Regions from separate parts of the Homo sapiens genome. Here region 2 is linked to region 1. The links are contacts of gene promoters, found by promoter capture Hi-C in blood cells and fetal thymus (Javierre and others, 2016). All regions are on one chromosome and are shown on one strand. Each heading gives the region's core, a stretch centred on a gene start or on the middle of the fragment in contact. The rest is flanking DNA. Distances are from core to core; before and after follow the strand shown. Region 1 holds the start of LBX1 (ladybird homeobox 1). Region 2 overlaps LINC03046 (long intergenic non-protein coding RNA 3046).

Region 1 (5,112 bases), core at 1,624-4,123:
TTAGTGGGCATTAGGAGGCAGAAATGGCATCGAAAACAGACTTTTCTCTCAGAGGGTGGGGAGGAAAGATCGATTTTGAAACTTGCAAGTCAGGACCTGACTGCCCACCTCTTCCCCTCCCACATGAGGAAAAAAGGCCCGAGGAAATAGAAGTCAACTGCAATAAGGCCGAGGGAGGCGAGGAAGGAGCGGGCCGGTGCATTCGCCACATGCAGAGAAAAATCAAAACAGCCGGAGCTGCCACTCCCCTAGACCGCAGGGTTAGTGTTCCCCGCCCTGGTTTCTGTCTCGCCCTCAGCAAACCCGGCAGCCCGAGAGCTTTGAAAACATCGAAATCTCCGAGATTTAAAAAATAATAATAAAAGAAAGGAAAAATCAGGCTGCGGTGGGAAGAACCCGCTATATAGGTTTAAATATTTATATAGAAGCCATACAGAATTGCACGGCGAGGGCTTCCGGGGCGGCGGAGGCCGCTGGTGGCGGCCGGCCCGGCCGGCCAGCCTGGGTTTATTGCTTCGAGAGGGAAGAGGCGGCTGCCAGGAGCCGAGTCCGGGGCCGGGGACAGGGGAGGAGGCGGGAGTTGGCAGAGGAGGTCCCAGCTCCCCTCGGCGGTCCGGTCCGGGAGGCGTTGGGCTTTCGAGCGCTAGGAGCCCAGGGCGGCGGAAGACCCGGGGCGCCGCTCAATCGTCCACGTCGATCTCTTCGTCTTCCTCGTCCTCCGAGCAGTCCTGGCTGCTGGCCGGCTGGTCCGTGAGCGGAGAGGCAGGCGAGAGCTGCAGGGCGCCAGCGCCCGGGGCCTTCGGGGCGCCTGGGGGGAGGACCGGAGAGCCGGGCCTCGACTTGGCCCTGCCGCAGCCGCCGCCACCGCCGGCTGTGGCCTCCGAGTTCTGCTCGAGTTCGGCCAGCGCCACGATGTCCATCTGCCCGCTGGGGCCCAGTTTCTTGGCGGACTCTACGTCGGCCTTCATCTCCTCCAGGTCCCGCTTGAGCTTAGCGCGCCGATTCTGGAACCAGGTGATGACTTGCGCGTTGGTGAGGCCCAGCTGCTGCGCGATTTGGTCGCGATCGGCGGGGGACAGGTACTTCTGGTATAGAAAGCGCTTTTCCAATTCATAGATCTGGTGGTTGGTGAAGGCCGTGCGCGACTTTCGCCGCTTCTTAGGGGTCTGCCGCTGCCCAAAGATGGTCATACCGTCGCGGCCTGGGAGGAAAGGACAGTGTAGGCTCGCGTTGGGAGAGAGGAAGCCCACCCTGGCTCTCGCCCCCGTAACTCCGTAACCCACCCAGGCCTGTCCGGCCTGCAGTCTACCAATGTTCCCTTCTCAGATTTAATTCAGCCTCCAGGACCAGGGCAAGTCTTGGCTATGGCAAACCATCTCCTGTCTTTGGTCTCCCAGAAGTCCCTAGGAAAAATTGTTTTGGTCTCTGCCCCCTACCTAAGAGTTGGTTTGAAAGACCCAAAGTCTCTAAGGGTATGAGAAAGCCAGACAGAGACACCCTAATTGCGGTGTGAATGTTGGTTCTCCATCCCTTCCCAATCACTTCAACTCTACCCTACCCATAAGGTCCCCGGCAAAAGACTCTCGATTCCCCACGCCGAGTAGCCGGGCTAAGAGCGCCCAGGACACTGGGAACGCAAGGGAGCCCGGCAAAGCAAGCAGACTGCGGAAAGAGCTTGGCCACCCTTCTCCTGCCACCCCCCAGCTCTGGCCTACCCAGAGGTCCCTGGGAAATAAGGATTGGGTCCCGTCCCACATATCTTCACTCCCATAAGCAGCTGCTCAGGCTGGAAGGCCCTGGCGGCCGGAGAGGGCAGAGGCGAGCAGAGGCATAGGGGACGAAGCGCGCAGGGCACAGGGCGCGAGGCGCTGGGTGCAGGGGAACCCAGCAGCTGCGCCTACCTTCGGCTGCCTGCAGAACGCTGACCTCCAGCCCCTTAAACGTCTTGCTGGCGAGCTCCTCCAGCGCGCACAGCGGCGAGGTCTGCGAGAGCAGCGCGCGGCCCGCCAGGGGCAAGCCGCCCTGCGCGTGCTTGTCCGCGGCGGCCAGCAGGTGCGCCGCCCCGCACAGCGAGTAACTTCTCCGCACAGACGGCTTGTTGAGGATGTCCTCGATGCTGAACGGCGTCAGTGGCTTGTTGGAGTTGGCAGGCGGAGGCAGGTGGTCCAGCGGGCTGCGCCGCCGCTCCTCCCCCGGCGCCGCCTTGCCGTCCTCCTTGGAAGTCATCTCGGCCTTGTTCGGGGTCCCGGCCGGGGCGGCTCGGGCCGCGGGGACCCAGCCCGCGGGCAGCTCGGGCGCCGGACGGCGCGGGCAGGCAGCGGCGGGTGGAAAGGAGGCCGCACTGGGCAGGGCGCGGGCCGGGCGCGGGGCCGATTAGCGCGGCGGCTGAGGAGGGGAGAACAGCGCGGGGCCCCGGGAAGAGGGCGCTGACGCGGGCGCCGCTGCTGCTGGGGCTTCCAGCAATCCGGGGCCGGAGCCGGGGCGCGCTGCGCGGGGCTCCAGTTTCGCCAACCCCGGTGCTATTTAAAGGTGTCAGGTGGCTCGGCAGTGGCTCCTGGCCCCGGGTCCTGGCGGCCGCAGTTGGAAGAGCCGAGGCGAGGGCGCCGATCCCGGACTGCGAGGGAGGCGGAGAGACGGGGCAATTGACTATTGCTAACAAGTTAGCCTTGATCGCGGTGTAATCAATTATCTGCAGCGGCACTTCTTTCTCTTTCTCTCTCCTTTCTCCCTTTTTCCTCTCTTCTTTGCCTCTGTTCTCTCCTCCTGTTCTCGCTCTCCCTCCCTCCCTCTCTCTTCTCTCTTCTCTGCTCCCCCCTTCTCTCTCCTTCTCTCCCTCTCCCTCGCCCTCTCTTTCACTCTCTGTCTGTCCAATGCAGGCGGCTGTAAGTTGGGAAGCTCATTAATTAGCGGGCCGGGGGTAGGAGGAGCCGGCTGGAATTAGCCTGCCTAATGCGCCTGTCAGTCCGGGCGCTGCGCTGCGTTCGGCCCGAGCTGTTTGTAAATTACATTAGCTGCTCCTTTATTGCACCCGAACCTCGGGCGACTGAAAAGCCACCGCCCCCACCCCAAACTGCGAGCCGCGCTCCTGGCGCACCCGCCTCCCGCCGGCCTAGCTGCAATGACCGCACCGGCCCGAAGGTCTCGGTCTCTCCGACCCGGGATGTGGAGCCCGAAAGAGTGGTGGGAACCCCAGCCCGGGAGGGACGCGGCCGCCGCTCGGGCCAGGTAGGACCAGGAGCCCGGGTGGGCCCCGCTGCCACCCAGAGTGGACTTTGCGGAGCTGAGATCAAGAGCCCAGCGCCTCTACCTCTGACCCTCTTGCCCCTCACCCCACTGCCTGGGCGACGCGCCTGGGGAGAGGGAATCTGAAGCCCTCCTGCGCTGGCCCGCAGGAGGTCAGAGCCGGCTGCGCAGCCTTGGGTGGGCGACGCGGGAAGGGGGTGGAGGACCCCAGGGGTTGGGGGAGGGGGCTAGTCGGAGAGCTCAGCCTTCTCCACGCGGAGAGGCGGAGGAGGGAATTGTTGGCGGCTCTGGACGCCTCTCCCCGGCCTGATTCCGAAGCGGCCGCCCTACCTCCTCCGGCAATCTTGCTCACTTTCCTCCGGCAGCCGCTCCCCAGGCTGGCTGGGGCCACCAACGGCCTGATGATGGGCGTCTGAAGAGTAGCCAGGCCAGGTGCCGGGGCTAACGGGGCCGGCTCCGTGCCTCCCTGCTGCGCTCCGCCCGGGCCCCGGCCGGGGCCCCGCTGCCGGCCCCGCCTAGCCCAGCGCCCGGCTTGAGTGCATGGCCAGGCCGACTCCAGCTGTTCCGGATGCGGGGCGGGGGCCCGGCGGGAGCCAGGCCGCGGCTGGGGCTTTGCTCTCAGGAACTCGCAGGGAGGCCAGGCTTCCAGTTAGGCTGGGGCTAAAGACCTTAGGGCCCGGGATCTGTGAATATCGGGAGAACATGTTGTGTGCATTGTTACTTGAAGGTGTTTGTGTTTTTGAATGTGTGTTTGTGTGTGTTTCTCCATGCGTATATTTGTGTAAATGTGTGTGAACCTGTGGGTATATAGGTGTGTTTGAACTCAGCTATTTCTTTCATTTCCCTGAGGCATTCCAGCAGGGCTGTGCCCTCAGGCCTTCCTGTCTTGCTACCCCATTCTGTTTATGTGGGGCCACTGGCCTCCTTACTAATTTTCCATTTCTGCCCTTGGAGAAAGGAGGGGAGGACCTAGAGGGGGTTGGAGTCCAGGGAGAAGGGCTGTTCCCCTCCCACACACACACAGCCCTGGCCCTGGCTTTGTTTGTAAACTCCTGGGTGGGCGGTGAGGTTGGGCATTGGGCAGCACCGCTTGGACCAGAAAAGGGCCCAGAGAGGCCAAAGTGAGGATTTGTGGCCCAGGCCAAGGGTTGGAATGGGAAGATTAGGATTTCTTGCCCCCTCTCCCCTCATATCTAACCCCAGAGAGGGAGTGAGCTAAGCTGGGCTCCGGGGCGGGAAGCAGGTTCTTTCTCTGGATGCCTCAGCGTAGGGGGCCTCTGCACAGCAGAGATAGGTTTCATGATCTCACCTTCAGTTGTTTGTTTGGAATTGTGGCTGGCAGCTCTCTGGGGTAAAAAGGACAGTGTAGGGAGAAAGGGTTCTTGTTTGGTGCCCCAGTTCTGTGAATGTTGGGAAGAACCCCTACCCTCTAACTCATCTTTGTCCTGCATTTTCGGGGTGGCAGTAAGCGAGTGGGGGGAAGACAAATGCTCAGAGGCAGGATTGGTGAGAATGGGAATCACAGTTCCCTCAGAGCTGCAGACCCACTCCAGGGCAGACCTGTCTCTACTCTTCTGCGCTGCCCTGGGAGCCACGAGGTGCTGCTGGGCCTAGCAACAGAGGAGTCAGAGCCTAGAGACCAGCAGAGGCGGACCGGTGGGAGAGGGCGTTGGGGAGCTGAATCTGGGTGGCTTGGAAGCTCTGGGGCCAAGAGGGGTCAGTCCTCTCACTTCCTGCCCTCAGGATCCCATTTCAGCCTTTTCCTGCCATAACCCCAACCCCCTGACCCAGAGCCTCAGGCAAGTGAGGCTAGCAGGGAGGCAGGGAGGCCCCTCTAGATCCAGGAACAAGGACCCTTGGATCCCAATA
Region 2 (5,112 bases), core at 1,435-3,934, 500 kb after region 1:
ACATCTCTTCTCCAGTGATCTTAACCTTGGACTTAGAATTTTCCCCTGTTTCTTAACAGTACCTCTCCTCCCTGGCTGTTCTTTAGCATAACATCAATTCAGTCAAATGAAATAAACAAACATTTACAGAGTGAAGGGGAGGGAAAGATGGGAAGGGGACAGCTGTGATTACTGACCCATCCTGCCCCAGCTTTCCCTCACTAGGAGTAGTTTTGGGTACAAACTCAGAATGGCAGTTAAGAAGAAAAAAGCCTTGTTTTTTATGCTTTCCTAAAGACCAGCAAGGAACAATTGGAATTTGAAATGTAAAAAAAATACCATTTACAATAGCACCAACAAAAATCAAAACAAAACAAAAACCACTTAGGCCCAAATCTAACAAAATAAATACAGGATCTATATGAGAAAAACTACATAACACTGGTGAAGAAAATCAGAGATCTAAATAAATGGAGAGAGAGTCCATGTTACAAGATCAATATACAAAAGCCAGTTTCTGTCATATACTAAATACCAGCAATGAACAATTGGGATTTGAATTTTATTTTATTTATTATTATTATTATTTTGAGACAGGGTCTTGCTCTGTCACCCAGGATGGAGTGCAGTGGCATGATCATAGCTCAATGCAGGCCCCACCTCCTGAGCTCAAACAATCCTCACCTCAGCCTCACAAGTAGCTAGGACTACAGGTGCATGCCACCATGCCTGGCTCATTGGGAAAAATTTTTTTTTTTTTTTATAGAGATGGGGTCTTGTTATGTTGCCCAGGCTGGTCTTGAACACCTGAGCTCAAGGGATTCCTCCTGTTTTGGCCTCCCAAAGTGGAATTAGAGGTGTGAGCCACTGTGCCTGGCTGGGATTTGAAATTTAAAAAAAAAAAGATAACATTTATAAGCCTTATTTCTTGGCGTCATGTGGTTCAAGTGAACACCTTAGCTTGGTGATTTGCAGTTTCAACTTGACTGTGCCCTTTAACCAGAAATCCTGGGGTTGTTGAGACCTTTCCATGTAGTAGCCCAGATCTCATCTTCAATTTTGAGTCAAAATGGATTTTTGAGCGGTCCTAATAGTCACTGGATTCCTCTGAGGTACTATTTGTTGACATTTTTTTTTCTCCAAGCCTCTTTCATTTAGGCAGCCAAATTTTCCTCAGAGACTTCCATTCCTCATTTTCAAACCTTCCTGCCTCTTTTGCTTCCAGCTGGTTCCTGAACTTCGGTCTGACATTTCCAACAGTACCTCCAGCCTACAGCAAGTGTCCTGCCTTTGTGGCCTGTTTCCCGGCCATTGTCTGGCTTCTCTGTTCTTCATTCCCCTTTATCTCTACTCCTTCCCTCCTCCTCCCCAGTGCACAGGTCAGGCATTCAAGGGTGGACGTATCATGGACAACTCTGATTTGAGTTGTTTTCTCTGAAACAAATATTTGCATATGTGACCCTCCCCCACCCCGCCATTTACCATATGGCTTTTCCTCCATCTCAGCCAGAGGAACTCTCAAATTCATATATGTTTTTGGAAATGAAGTTTTCCCCAGATGGTCTCTCCAAAGCACCAAAGCAAGGTCAGAGTTTGTGCATTCCTTCAAAGGTTCTGGGCAGGAGTTAGAATTACTCGTGTTTTCTTACTCCCATCAGCAGTTATTTTGTCAGTGCACCTGATAATGGGACAAAACCTGAGTCTTTCTTAGCTAAAAACACACCAGTGTTTGAGGGAGATGTTGAACCATAAACTGGTGTCCCCAGGGAAAGGAGAGAAACCTGCTCAGTTGCTCAAATAATTTCAAACCAAAGCCCCTGAGGATACTTCCACAGGGAGAGAAAAAGAGTATGAATATTAGAAAGATGATGAGCCAGGTGTGCTGAAAAGTTTTCTTAGTCATTCTTAACCCTAGAAGGGGATGGGGGCAGCCCCACATCTCTACTGGGAAACATACTTCCCCTTTTAAATCAGGAAAGAAGAAAACAACAACATAGCCCCAAATAGAGAATGTTTTCTTTTGTAACTGGAAGCAAACATTGCTGATGGCTTTAACAGCTGTCTGCCAACGTGGCCTGAGCAGCAGGCAAGCTCAAACATTTTCTGAGATCAACATATGTACAGACGTACAGTATATTAGGTCAAATTATAAATCCAGGAATAAAAGAACAAATAAGTTTCGGCTTTCTCTAGGCTTCTGCATCCAACACCAGCTAAATTAGCCTCTGAAGCAGAGGAATCTGGATTCCAAATAGGCAGGTCTTCCAAAAGTTCAAGTCAAACCTCCCTCTGGTAGGAAAAGAAGGTGCCGTTGTAGATTAACTTGCTGATGACTGACCAGGTCCGGGCTGCTGGGCCCAGCCTAGCCAAGGCTTCCCTGTGTCTTAGCCCAGCAGACTCTGAGGATCTGCGTGCGGCAGGTTAACGTTAAGCCTGCCATTGACTTGATCTTTGACCCCAGTAAATCATTTAATATGCAGTGTGCCTTTGTCCATATGTTAATGTTTTGTGTAATTCGGATGAGAATTCCAGCAAGTCTGGGTGTGCCACCCATTAGGACTAAAGCTTTCCCTTTGGAGCTTCTAGGAGGAACCTTCTGGATAGCTACATTGCAGAAAGCTGAAGTACCTCGATGAACCTAATTGAAATGCCTGCAGATGGTGAGACCAGCCTTGCCTGAACTGTGACTGAGAAGTAAAAGAATGAATTTTTTCCTTTGTTATCAAAACTGACACAAAACTTTTAGTTTTGCCTTAGGGCAAGAAACCCACCAGAATGTAATAGGCAGGAGAATACTGGCTTCCACCACTCTACTAGTTATGGGACCTTGAACAAGTCACATTGGCTAAGCTTCCATAGATGTTAGTGGGTCATGAAATCAATGAAATAGATTGGAACTAAAAAAAAAATTTTTTCGAGATGGAGTCTTGCTCTGTTGCCCAGGCTGGAGTGCAGCGGCTCAATCTCGGCTCACTGCAACCTCCACCTCCTGGGTTCAAGCGATTCTCCTGCCTCAGCCTTCCGGAAGCTGGGATTACAGATTCCTGCCACCAAGCCCGGCTAATTTTTGTATTTTTAGTAGGGACAGGGTTTCACCATGTTGGCCAGGCTGGTCCGAACTCCTGACCTTAGGTGATCTGCCCTCCTCAGCCTCCCAGAGTGCTGGGATTACAGGTGTGAGCCATGGCGCCAGGCTCTAAAAAATGTTTTAATAAAATAAATTGAGTAGAATAGAAAATACCAGGGCTTAGTCCACAGTAAGGGGAAGTACACGTGTGTATGTATGATTCCTGGGGTCATAATGAACAATAAACGTTCTACTATAGGTAACTAACAAAAAGTTTTCAAGCCAGTGGCTTAGCCCAGTGGTCCCCAACCTTTTTGGCACCAGGAACAGGTTTCACGGAAGACAGTTTTTCCTTGGATGGGGTGGAGGAGCCGGTTTTGGGATTAAACTGTTCCACCTCAGATCATTAGTTAGATTCTCATAAGGAGTGGGCAACCTAGATCCGTCACACGCACAGTTCACAATGGGGATCGCATTCCTACGAGAATCTAATGCCGCCACTGATCTGATGGGAGGTACACCTCAGGCAGTTATGCCTGATGTTCACCTCCTGCTGTGCAGCCAGGTTCCTAACAGGCCATGGACTGGTACCAGTCCATGGCCTAGGGGGTTGGGGACCCCTGGCTGAGACCATAGAGCTTCGATCTCCTAGTCTATTTGTTGGAAATAATTCATTTTATATGCATACATAGATATACATACATATACAAATACACACACATCTAATGAGCACCTACTCTGTGTCAGGCACAGTGAGGGGTGTGTGAGGTATACAGGCATGACAAGGCCCTGTCCCCGTGGAGCACTGGCTAGTCAGGGAGCCTATCATAAAATACTGGCATAATGATTTCACTGCCATTGTGATTAGGGCCACAAAGAGACTTACAAAGGGAGAAGAGAGTATGTCGCAGGGTTCCTGACCTGGGCTGCAAGACCAGGGCCAGCCTTCCTGAGGAACGGACATAGAAGGAGGCAGAGAGTGATGCAGGCAAAGAACTGGGGGCATCCCCGGCTGAAGAACCAGCAAGTCTGAGCAGACCCTGAAGAAGGAGTAACCTGTGCTGGGCCTGCCCCAAAGGCTTCTGTGAGGATGACCAAGGGAGGTGACAGCCAGCAGAAACACAGTTTCTGTAAACTGTAGAGTGTTATTCAAATGTGACCTATTATTTAAAACAATGAATATAAACATGCCTTAAAGGTGAGCTTAGCCGGTGGATGGCTCATGCCTGTAATCCCAGCACCTGGGGAGGCCGAAGAGGGTGTATCACCTGAAGTCAGGAGTTCGAGACCAGCCTGGCCAACATGGTGAAACCCCATCTCTACTAAAAGTACAAAAAAAAATTAGCCAGGCGTGGGGGTGGGCGCCTGTAGTTCTGGCTACTCGGGAGGCTGAGGTAGGAGAATCTCTTGAACCTGGGAGGCAGAGGTTGCAGTGAGCCGAGATCGCACCACTGCACTCCAGCCTGAGCGACAGAGTGAGACTGTCTCAAAAAAAAAAAAAAAAAAAAAAAAAAAAGGTGAGTTTAAGCATCCTTTCAATGACTCTTTGCCGGATTCTGTTCTAGGTTCTGGGAATACAGCAGTCAGTAAGACAGACCCTCTGTCCTCCATAAACACAGAGAATGGTGACTTCAGACAGCGGTAAATGCTATGGTGAAATAGAAAATTTGGCAGAGGAATAGAGAATAATGGAGGCAGGGAAGGTTCTAGACAGGAAGGCAGGGCTCTCTAAGGGGGTGAAAACCAGATCTGAACAAACTACCTGTCACCCTCTGACAATGTGACCTTGGATACATCACCTAATCTTTCAAGACTCTCCTTTCACCTCATCTCACAGGACTCACCTGAGAATTAAATGAGATAAGAAATGGAAGCCCTCCTAATACAGGTTAGCGTGAATAATGTTAAACAGTGAATATTTAATAAATGCTAAATAATCGAGTGCTTTAATCAAGAACGAAAGTCAGAAGTTTTTTTTAACAGTCCGGGTGCAGTGGCTCATGCTTGTAATCCCAGCACTTTGGGATATGCATACATAGATTTACATACATATACAAAGGAGGCTG

The links. The method cuts DNA at HindIII sites, captures the fragments that hold promoters and counts their contacts. A CHiCAGO score of 5 or more calls a contact.
Region 2: a fragment that was not itself captured here is called in contact with the fragment with the promoter of LBX1 in region 1 in 1 of 17 cell types (M1 macrophages); the score reaches 5.1 in M1 macrophages.

Annotation. Positions count from the first base shown.
Region 1 is chr10:101,226,590-101,231,701 of GRCh38, forward strand. It overlaps LBX1 (ladybird homeobox 1), which reads right to left and starts at 2,874. Exons shown (of 2, transcript NM_006562.5): 1 at 1,902-2,874; 2 at 405-1,201. The coding sequence starts at 2,226. The coding sequence ends at 681. LBX1-AS1 (LBX1 antisense RNA 1) reads left to right here and starts at 3,005. Exons shown (of 3, transcript NR_029380.1): 1 at 3,005-3,225. RefSeq lists an enhancer at 1-26. The HindIII fragment of the contact is 27,362 bases long and covers 1-5,112 here.
Region 2 is chr10:101,723,662-101,728,773 of GRCh38, forward strand. The region is part of intron 1 of LINC03046 (long intergenic non-protein coding RNA 3046); the gene reads right to left. Among named protein-coding and RNA genes, the nearest start is that of LINC03046, 3.9 kb to the right of the region's middle. RefSeq lists an enhancer at 1-304. The HindIII fragment of the contact is 285 bases long and covers 2,543-2,827 here.